Regions from separate parts of the Homo sapiens genome. Here region 1 is linked to region 2. The links are contacts of gene promoters, found by promoter capture Hi-C in blood cells and fetal thymus (Javierre and others, 2016). All regions are on one chromosome and are shown on one strand. Each heading gives the region's core, a stretch centred on a gene start or on the middle of the fragment in contact. The rest is flanking DNA. Distances are from core to core; before and after follow the strand shown. Region 1 overlaps SLC39A14 (solute carrier family 39 member 14). Region 2 holds the start of CCAR2 (cell cycle and apoptosis regulator 2).

The links. The method cuts DNA at HindIII sites, captures the fragments that hold promoters and counts their contacts. A CHiCAGO score of 5 or more calls a contact.
Region 1: a fragment that was not itself captured here is called in contact with the fragment with the promoter of CCAR2 in region 2 in 4 of 17 cell types (non-activated CD4 T cells, M0 macrophages, naive CD4 T cells and 1 more); the score reaches 7.4 in non-activated CD4 T cells.

What each region holds. Positions count from the first base shown.
Region 1 is chr8:22,413,536-22,418,188 of GRCh38, reverse strand. SLC39A14 (solute carrier family 39 member 14) reads right to left here. Exons shown (of 9, transcript NM_001128431.4): 5 at 3,287-3,409; 6 at 2,232-2,420; 7 at 1,909-2,116; 8 at 354-538. Among named protein-coding and RNA genes, the nearest start is that of PPP3CC, 25 kb to the left of the region's middle. The HindIII fragment of the contact is 1,844 bases long and covers 1,778-3,621 here.
Region 2 is chr8:22,601,039-22,606,124 of GRCh38, reverse strand. It overlaps CCAR2 (cell cycle and apoptosis regulator 2), which reads right to left and starts at 1,368. Exons shown (of 21, transcript NM_001393997.1): 1 at 1,283-1,368; 2 at 294-389; 3 at 1-40. The coding sequence starts at 351. C8orf58 (chromosome 8 open reading frame 58) reads right to left here. Exons shown (of 7, transcript NM_001013842.3): 2 at 4,768-5,086; 3 at 4,273-4,413; 4 at 4,045-4,153; 5 at 3,813-3,925; 6 at 3,482-3,588; 7 at 1,983-2,930. The coding sequence ends at 2,819. LOC107986876 (a long non-coding RNA gene) reads left to right here and starts at 1,125. Exons shown (of 1, transcript NR_160769.1): 1 at 1,125-2,992. RefSeq lists silencers at 951-1,010, 1,071-1,370 and enhancers at 1,034-1,534, 1,541-1,650, 3,962-4,839. The HindIII fragment of the contact is 4,257 bases long and covers 1-3,976 here.

The DNA of each region.
Region 1 (4,653 bases), core at 1,450-3,949, 190 kb after region 2:
GTTCATGCCTGTAATCTCAGCACTTTGGGATGCCGAGGCGGGTGGATCACCTGAGGCCGGGAGTTCGAGACTAGCCTGGCCAATATGGGGAAACCCCATCTCTACTAAAAATACAAAAATTAGCCAGGCGTGGTGGCACACGTCTGTAATCCCAGCTACTCAGGAGGCTGAGGCAGGCGAATCACTTGAACCCGGGACGCGGAGGTTGCAGTGAGCTGAGATCATGCCACTGCACTCCAGCCTGGGAGACAGAGTGAGACTCCATCTCAAAAAAATAAAAATAAAAAAAAACTACCTACCTAACATCCATCCCCTTAGCCGCCCTCTCATCCAGTGAACTGTGGAACACTTACCATATCAGCCAGAGAAATATACAAGAACATTCCTCCAGCTAGCGCAAAAATCCAGTTGGCAGAGAAGTGGCTGCCGGCCAGGATGCCAAAGGCCAGACCCAGGTAGCAGCAGCAGGCAGAAAGGAAGTTGAAGAAGAGAGCTTGTTGGATGCTCATCCCAGCGTTGAGCAGGATGACAAAGTCTCCTACAGCAGCGAGAATGAAAAGGGGAGGGACGAGGAAGGAAGAGTAAGATGGGCATGGTGAATGCACACCTGTCATCCCAGCTACTCAGGAGGCTCAGCTGGGAGGACTGTTTGAGCTCAGGAGTTTGAATCCAGCCTGGCGACAAAGTGAGAGCCAGTCATACAAGGTCGTGGGAGACAGAGGGCACCGATGACATCAGACTGCTAAAAGTGTGGGTGAAAAAAATCAAGACAGCCCTAGACTCAAGACAGAAGTGACAAGACAGGCCCTTGAACTTCCTGTTCAGGACCCGTCTCCATTTGCCAAACTGGCCGTATACCCAGCCTAAAGGCTGAAAATCTTTCTCAGGATTTTAAAAATAGATGACCAGCTGGCACTGGCCTCCTCATTTCTCTCTGGATTCATAGTGAAACAGAAGGAACCCCCTTCCTCACAACTACCATGGAAACAAAATCAAAACTGCGAGAAGTTAAGTGTCGAGACTGTGAGAAGTGATTTGCCCGAAGTCACAAGTCAATATATGGCAAAGCCAGAACTTGACCCTACGTCGTCCCTAAAGCCTCTGGAGTAATTACTAGCTTTTTACACTCTCCCTCTGATCAAACTAAGTCCCTCCTACCCCCTGGTTCATCCAGCTGCCATGCACCTGCCAGGCACCTGAGCCTTTGGAAGATTAACAGGCTACAAAAGAGAGCCTTTACTGAGTGCTCAGAATAGCACCTGGCACATGGGAAGTCCCTCTCACCCTTTGTTTTCCTTTAATCCTCACTATTATTCTAAAAGGAGGTGCTCTTATTAACCCCACTGTATAGGTGAGAACTGAGCCACTGCATATGGGGCTAAAAGGAAACAAACACCCCTGTAAAAACCCCATCATTTTAAATTATCTATTTAATCGTTAAGAAATGGTGGTTAGGCCACGTTCGGTGGCTCAAGCCTGTAATCCCAGCACTTTGGGAGGCTGAGGCGGGCGGATCACGAGGTAAGGAGTTCAAGACCAGCCTGGCCAACGTAGTGAAACCCTGTCTCTACTAAAAATCCAAAAAAAAAAAAAAAATTTAGCCGAGTGTGGTGGCAGGCGTCTGTAATCCCAGCTACTTGGGAGACTGAGGCAGGAGAATCGCTTGAACCCAGGAGGTGGAGGTTGCAGTGAGCCGAGATCACATCACTGCACTCCGGCCTGGGCAACAGTGCGAGACTCCGTCTCCAAAAAAAAGGTGATTAGGGTCCATGAAGCTTTAGGAGTGTGTTAAATCAGTTACAATAAGCACTGTGAAGACAGGGAGATGGGAGCAAGGAACCGGCCACAGGAAGGGGGCCTACACCACCACCCAAGGGAGCACCAGTGGAACGGGGGACGCACGCTTACCTAGCTCATGTGGGAACTCCTCACAGAGGATGGCCACCGAGGTGCTGATGCCTTGGAAAACTGACACAGTGAAGGAAGCACCGATGGCCAGGCCATCGATGAAATTATGGAGGCCGTCGCTCAGAGTGATCATCCAGGCCAGAGTGCCGATATCAGAGTAGCGGACACCTTTCAGCCAGTAGCAAGCACTCTGGGAAGCCTGCAGGTCCTAGGAGAAAGCACACCCCCAGGGCCCACAGCGTCAAAGGCTGGACCATGTGCCCTCAAGGTAAGCCTGAGTCAACCTCTTAGAGGCTCCACCAAGCAGCTGGTGGCCCACTGACCTGCACAGAGAGCGAGCCCACAATGACCTTCTCGTCCACCATGGGCGCCTTGCCGTCCAGCTCACTGCTGCAGTGCTGAGGAATCATGTGGTCCAGGTCCCCGTTCTGCAGCTTCTCCATCACCCCCTCCTCCTGGTCCTTCTTGGAGGGAAGCGACTCAGAGGCATAATGGCTGTGTCCATGATGATGCTGGAAGGGTGACAGGGAGGGATCAGCATGACATTCACCAAAACCACAAACCTGATTGAGCACCTGCTCCAAGGAAGTGCTTCACACACTGGAAGACCTCAGCCTTACCATCGAAGATGACACAAGCAGGTCACGTGCCCAGAAACATAGCAAAAGCTATTATATAAAGCCATGGTCGGGCACGGTGGCTCACACCTGTAATCCCAGCACTGTGGGAGGCCGAGGTGGGAGGACTGCTTGAGCTGAGAAGTTTGAGAGCAGCCTGGGCAACGAAGCGAGACCCCGTTTCTAATATCTATATATATAAATCTGCACCAAGTGCGAAGGACCTGGTGTCAGACAGATATCAAAGCTGTCTCCTCGGGGTACATGCTTATTCCACCAAGGCAGCCACTGCTCAAATATTTAGAGCTCCTCTTTTGCAATGGCTAATCTCACTCAATTCAGCAGCTATTTAGGGAATAACTGCATGCCAGCCACTAAAGATATCTTTTTGAAACTGTACTATAATAGTCCTGTTTCTCTGCAGCCTCATACTTCATACAGAATGAATGCATGGTATCAAGCTCTTCTCCCCATCCTGTAAAGATACAAATATATTAAGGAAATAATCTTAGAACAAAACAAAGGGGATAAACTACTGCTTAGTAGAAGGCACCCTGGCCAGATCTAGTTTCTGGTCTGGCCTCACTTCTGGCCAAATATCCTCAGGAGGTGAAATGGGATTGTCTCCTCAAGAAATTAGAGTTTCACGGAAATTGTGATATTGGGCTAAGACCATCACCACCACCACCACAATACATCAACATTGTTTGAGATGGGTGTTTTCCCTAGAAGAGCTTTCTTCAGCAACAATTGGGCCTCACCTCATTTTTCTGCTTAAGAAGAATCTTCAAGATCTTCTCTGTGAAAAAGAAAAGATAAAAGCCCCCAAACACCACTGCAGACTTGGAGACATAATAATCTTCCAGAGGGTTGAAACCAAATGCCTGTGGACCCAGGAAAAGAAAATGAGTTTTAAAGAAAATAAAGCATCTTTACTGATCCCCCTCTTATCTCTTAACTACTTCCTTGACTCTAGGAAAGGAGAGAGGCATAATGGAGTAACTCTGCCGTCTACCCATCCTCTTTCCAGCAAAAATCTAGTCCTTGGTGTTTCCCTGATGTGACATCACTAAACCTGCCAGGTTCTTCTCAAGCTTATTTGCTGATGCAAAAGACTGATCATCTGTAGAATTTTAATCCCAGAAAGAAAAACCTCCGATATGGTTTTCCACTTTTGATTTATCTTGGTGCTTTGCTATGAAGGCATTCTCTGCCAATAGATTTCATATTGAAGGAGCAGACACTTGTATTTATTTTCATCTTATCTAGTGTTCCTGGCTGACCTGCCTGTAAACACAAAGGGAGATGGTGTAATTATACTTTCTAAAACGGGAAACCCATTTCCCAGTTAAGTAATAAGAACTGCAGCGTTTTCCTAACCGCAGACCTCCCAGTGACCACAGAACCAAGAAAGTGGACTGTGTTATTGCGAGCGTCAATTTTTGGGTTTTGTTTTGAGTCCTTTCTGAAACTGTCACTTATCAAAGAGGGAGGGGAGAATCCACTGGGAAGAGGACAGGAGTAGAAATCAAGAGAATTCTGTCCTAGGGTAAGCTCCTGATTTATGGTGGGTTCTTGTGAATGTGTCTAATGACCTGGCCGGGCACGGTGGCTCATGCACTTTAAAGGACCGAGGTGGGTGGATCACTTGAGGCCAGGAGTTTTGAGACCAGCCTGGCCAACATGGCGAAACCCCAACTCTACTAAAAAAAAAAATACAAAAATTAGCTGGGCCTGGTGGCACACCTGTAATCCCAGCTACTCGGGAGTGTGAGGCAGGAGAATGGCTTGAACCCAGGAGGCAGAGATTGCAGTGAGCCGAGATGGCACCACTGCACTCCAGTCTGGGTGACAGAGTGAGACTGTCTCAAAAACAAACAAAAAAAAGTATCTAACGACTTGCTCCTATTTTATTCTTAAATTTTTTTGTGGGTACATAGGAAGTATATATATTTACCGGGTTGTTCCTCCATTTTCTGATGGGAAACGGGCCTTGAATAAACTTCAGCCCTCTCATGAATTGGTCCAAAATAAAAGTTGATCCCAACTTCAAGGAACTCTGGGCTGTTTGTTGCCTTTATGTTTTAAACAGGCCAAATTGAATCACCACCCTCCAGGGAAACAACAC
Region 2 (5,086 bases), core at 119-2,618:
AAACCAGGAGGAGGGCCCAGAAGAGATGTTGAAGCTGTGCCTATGGGGAAAGAGAAGCAATCTCCAGGAACCGCCCCTACCACCTTAAGCACGAGTCAACCAAAGGATGTGGTAAATCCAAAGGCTACAGCTCCAGCCAGCTCCTCCACAGAGCTTCACTGGCAATCACTGTGGGCATCTCCTGCTTTCCAGAGGAACATCAGCAGCAAATTGCTCTCCACCAGGGAAACCCCAAACTAACTCCAGAGCACATACTTCCCAGGATGAGGCCAGGTAGGGAGAACAGTGATCACCTGAGAAGTTGCGTCCCCCTGGAAGCGGGTTGATCCGCTGGCGCTTAAACTGGGACATTGGGAACGCTGTCCTCTTTCAGAGTCGTGGGGAAAAGGCTTCAATCCAAAAAGAAAGAAATTAACAGCTTATAAGGGAAATTTCCATCTATACCCGGAAAAGTGGAGAATCTTAAGTAAGGATATTTCGGAAAACAGGGAGGTGGGTAATAAGAATGAATGAAAGCAATGGATGGAGAGAATATAGAGAAGAAAGAAATGAAACAAGAAATTACATTGTTCCAGTTTGCCCTGACAATAACCTAGTGGTGCATGATACTGTCATGCTGTTTTACAGACAAGGAAACTGATGCTCAGAGAGATCAAGAGACTTGCCCGGGGCCACATAACCAGGTAGTGACAAAACTGCTACTCACACCCAGGCCTCCCAACAACTTAGCGCTCCTCTCACTATGCCACGCCACCCCCAGAGTAGCTGGCGGGGTGAGGGGCTCGAGAGAGCCCCGATGACATTCCTTCGTTCAAAAACATCCGCCAAAACCCTCCACGCAAGGCCCGGAAAAATGGAGGAGGCCGGTGCCGGCGAGGAGACTGTGTGGGCCCTCTCCCCGGAAGCCCGACCCGTTGTTTCCTCGACCGGCTGGTGGGAAGGCAGCTCCCTGGCCGACCAAACGCGAAACCGGCTGCGCGCCACCCTCCTGCTCCCACGCTCCCGGGCCCTCCGCTCCGGCCTCAGCAGCCGCCAGCGCCGGGTCTCCCAGCAGAGCCGCGGCGAGGCCACCAAGGGAGGACTGAGGCGCGCGGTTTCTCCTCCTCCCGCCCGCCCCCAAGGCCGAGGCCGTTGCCAGGGAGACGGGACTTGCAGTCCAAAGAGGGGCTCGGCCCCTTCCGCGCCCCACGCATCTTCGCCGCCCGGCCCTCGCAGCCCCTCGGCCAGCGGAGGGGCGGAGGGGCGAAGGGGCAGAGGGGCGGCAGGGGGCCCCCCAACCCACCTGCGGGCCAGGGCAGCGACACCGGGGGGACAAAGACACCCGGAACCACCACAGCCGCTGCTGCCGCCGCCACCGGAAGCGCCTCTCCGGAAGCGCGACCACTGGTCGGAAGCTGCCGCTCTCCCGGATATGGTCCCTCCCTCGTCTCCGCCGACCTCTCCCTTCCCCCACGCCGGCTTGCCATCCCGCGGCAACTGGGGAGCGGAAGTGCGCCTTCCCGGATCGGATGCGCGTCAGGAAGTCGCGCCTCGGTAGTGTCCTCGCTAAAGAATCCCATCAGGAAAGAAGGCTTCGGATCATTGGTTCCGGGCTCAAAGGAAGCGGGAGCTGGGCCCCCCAAACACAAGGGACCCCCGACTGCCTACCACGCTCGCCTCCCTCTGGCAGTCGAGACTGCAACAGATAAGGAAACCAGCCCCTCCTGACTGGAGGAGAAGGATGCCTATCAGTGACCATTTCTAAGAGACATTCCTGGTCTGACTCAAGCCAGTGACCACCATGCCTAGCCAGTCAGGAATCAGTGCCCTAATTCTCAAATATGAAATCTAAGAGGCCTCAATGAAATGACCTGCTCAAAATCTTGCCAGGAGACTGGCCATTTTAGTCCCCATTAGCAATCCCAGCCCCCCCTTATCCTCCGACCTCCCCATCATCACTCCAGCCTTACTTTCCCCTTTCCTATTCACCTGAGGTTTACAAAGCACTTTGAGGCAGTTTAATCTCACTTTATCCTCATAACAAGTCTGTGAGGTAGATAGGGCAGGCATCATTATTCCCAGCGGGAAGCTGTGGCTCAGAAAGGTTGACTTGGGGTCTAAAAACTAGTACAGGCATCTGGTTTGAATTAAGACCTGTAAACGCTAGTACGGAGCAGAGAAGCTGAGCACTGGCTTTGAAAGTTATTCAGTTCCCAGGTTGTCCCTGATCTTCCTCATTCCTTGTGCAGTCTTCAGGAGTCCGGGGCAAGATTCCATGCAGAGGCAGCCAAAGCCACACCGTTCTCTGTCCCAGGGCTGCCAGCATGGCTCTGAGGAGGAAAGCTCAGTAACTGCCCACTGGGGAATAAAGGTCAGTTCCATCCTTCTGCAGTGACCTCCCCCAGAATATCAACCCTTTGGATGCATTATTTCAGAAGAGATGGTTGGATCCAGCCAGCTTGCAACACTGACAGTCACACAGAGATATGCATACCATTGCGCATAAATACACATCTGCAACATGCTGGGCCCAGACAGGTCACCATGCCAAAAACACTCCACGGACACCTGACAATGAGTGAGTTCACATTGTGGAAGCCCAGGGATTTCTGGTGAGGAGGAAGAGCCCTGGAGCTGCGGCATCTTGGGGGCCTCTCAAGAAACCAAGGTTCCTGACCAGACTGCTTAGAGGAGAAAGATTCAGCCCTCGACTCAAGAGAGGAGGGCAGGCGTCAGCAGCTTTTCCTGGCAATGTGGAGAAGCAGCAAGAGGGCAGAGGGCGAGGAAGACTTCACAGCAAGTCCCCTCCACCCAGGGTCACCAGGTGCACCGAGAGGTCTCAGCCTACAGAAAGGTTTTTTGCTCGTTGCTTCTTAACCACTAATGATGGCATAAAGGTCTTCCGGTGGGGGCGGCACTGAGGCCTTTCAGGGAGGTCCCTGGACTCGATCCTGTGGAATGAAAAGAAGACATTAGGCTAGAAGGGGGAAATAAAACTAACAATGGCCCTAGAGTTGAGAGAACGTGGTTTATCTGCTGGTGGGTAGCTGGGTGTGGGCGCAGCCCGGGGCTGTTAAATGACTTGGTATTTCTTCCTCCTGGAGAACGATTCAATACAAGCCCCGAAGCATGATGGCCTTCACCCACTGTGAAATCCTTTGTGCTCCACCTTGCTCTCCCCACGAACCTGGAAGGTGGCCTAAATGTCAGCATTGAGGGTGAGGGGTTGCTGAGCTAGGGTAGGCAGATTTCCCACATTCTGGTCCTAGCTGTCACTGACTCACCGTGCGGCTTTGGAAAAGCAACTACCCCCAACCCCACCCAGAACCCTGCCTCCTTATCTGTAAATGGGGTGTTTTAACTACTGTTTCTTCTAGCAGCCCCTCCCAGACTGCCTCTCAAGTTTTGCGGGGACAATAATGACAACTGGCATGACAATCTCAGCATCCTGGCTTATCAGTCTCCTCTCCGTGCCCTAACCTGGGCTGGGCACGGGGCTCACCTGGGGTCAGAGCCATCAGGAGGGGCAGGGGGCTCAGGGTGGTGGTGGCTTCTCCGGCAGATCCGGTTGAGCAGGACCTTGACCTTGTCCCAGTGGGAGATATCCCGCTGAGCAGAGGATGAGGGGTCACCCAGAGCCCTCCCCACACTCAGACCCCCGACCAAGCTCCCAGAGACAGCTGTCGCCACAGCCAGGACAAGTCGCCTGCTCCAAACAGGAATCAATCCTGTCATTTCCCCAGAGTTGCTGGCCCCCAGGGTGCCCATGCATCCCCCACCTCCCCTCCCCCCACCCCAGCCCACCACCTGCCCCACATATACCTGTCCCCTACCTTGTGTCCCTGGGAGGATGGCAAGTGGTACGTTGGCTCCACTGGGGTTTCTGGCAGCCTGGGAGGGTTGGCACTGGGCACCTCCACCTTTGGGGGTGAAGCAGCCTTTGCTCCTTCAGAAAGACAGTCAGGTTGGCCAGGGCCAGAAGACACCCCATCAAGCTTCGGCTCAGAGGACCTGCTGGTGGGACCCCAGGCAGGCAGGACAAAGGGAGACACGATGGCCCCTCACCTGTGTGCTCTGTCTGGCTTAGCAGCTCCCATGGCCCCTGCCCCCGATTGCCTGGGGTGTGTAACGGGGACGGTAAAGGGGCTCGGGTCGACTCCTCCTCGCCGGGATCCTATGCACAGGAGAGACAGGTGATCAGGGCCTGGCTAGAGGGCTGAAGCTGCTCTGAGGGCAGCCATGGTTCCCAGGGTCCCATCTGTCCTCTCCCTCCCCCACTCGAATCTCACTCACCCCTGGGGGCCTCTGGATCCGCAGCTGCAGGTAGAGCTGCTGGAGCCTTGCCATCTGCTCCAGCACCAGGCACAGGTGTTCCAGATAGCGAAGACCCTGCCCGGGGAGGCAGGCCCAGGCTCCAGGCCCCAGGCCCCCCACCTGTGGGACATTGTGAGATAGGGGAGATTTCAGCCAGTAGGGCTCCTGCCCTACCCTAAGCAGCCAGGCTGGGCTCAGCCAGCAGATGGGAGCAGAGTGGGCCCCGAGGAGGAACACACGCAGCCGGCTTCCCCACTGCCCAGCGGGGCATAGTGCCAGGAAGGGCCCCCGTAGCTGCCCACCTCCTCTGCAGAGGTGGCCGTGCACAAATGGAACTGGGGTGCAGAAAGAACCTATGACACAACCCATCAATTAGGGGCAGGGAGTGCCCCACCCAGAGAGAGCTCCAGGGAGAACCAGAGGAGCTAGGCTGTCCATCCCACTCTTAAACCCAGCCTGAGAGTGAGCACTCACCGCCTCTTCTTCCAGGCCTGCCTCTAGGTCTGTGTCTGCCTCCATGGACTCCTGTTGCCCTGCTCCAAGGGGCACTTCACGCTCAGGCTTGCTTGCCAGCCGCAGGGAGCGGTGTTGTCCTGACAAGCTGGTGGGAGCTGTTGGGAGCCGGCGGGACCGCTCCAACACCTCCCCCAGCTTCTGGCTGGCCAGGAGTCGGCCTACCTGGGCGGGGGGCTCAGAACTCCCTGAGGATTCAAAGTCCAGGGAGTCCTGAGAAAGGCCCGGTAAGGCGGCCAGGGGGCTGTCCCCAACTGCCATCTCCACTCCTGAGTCCCGG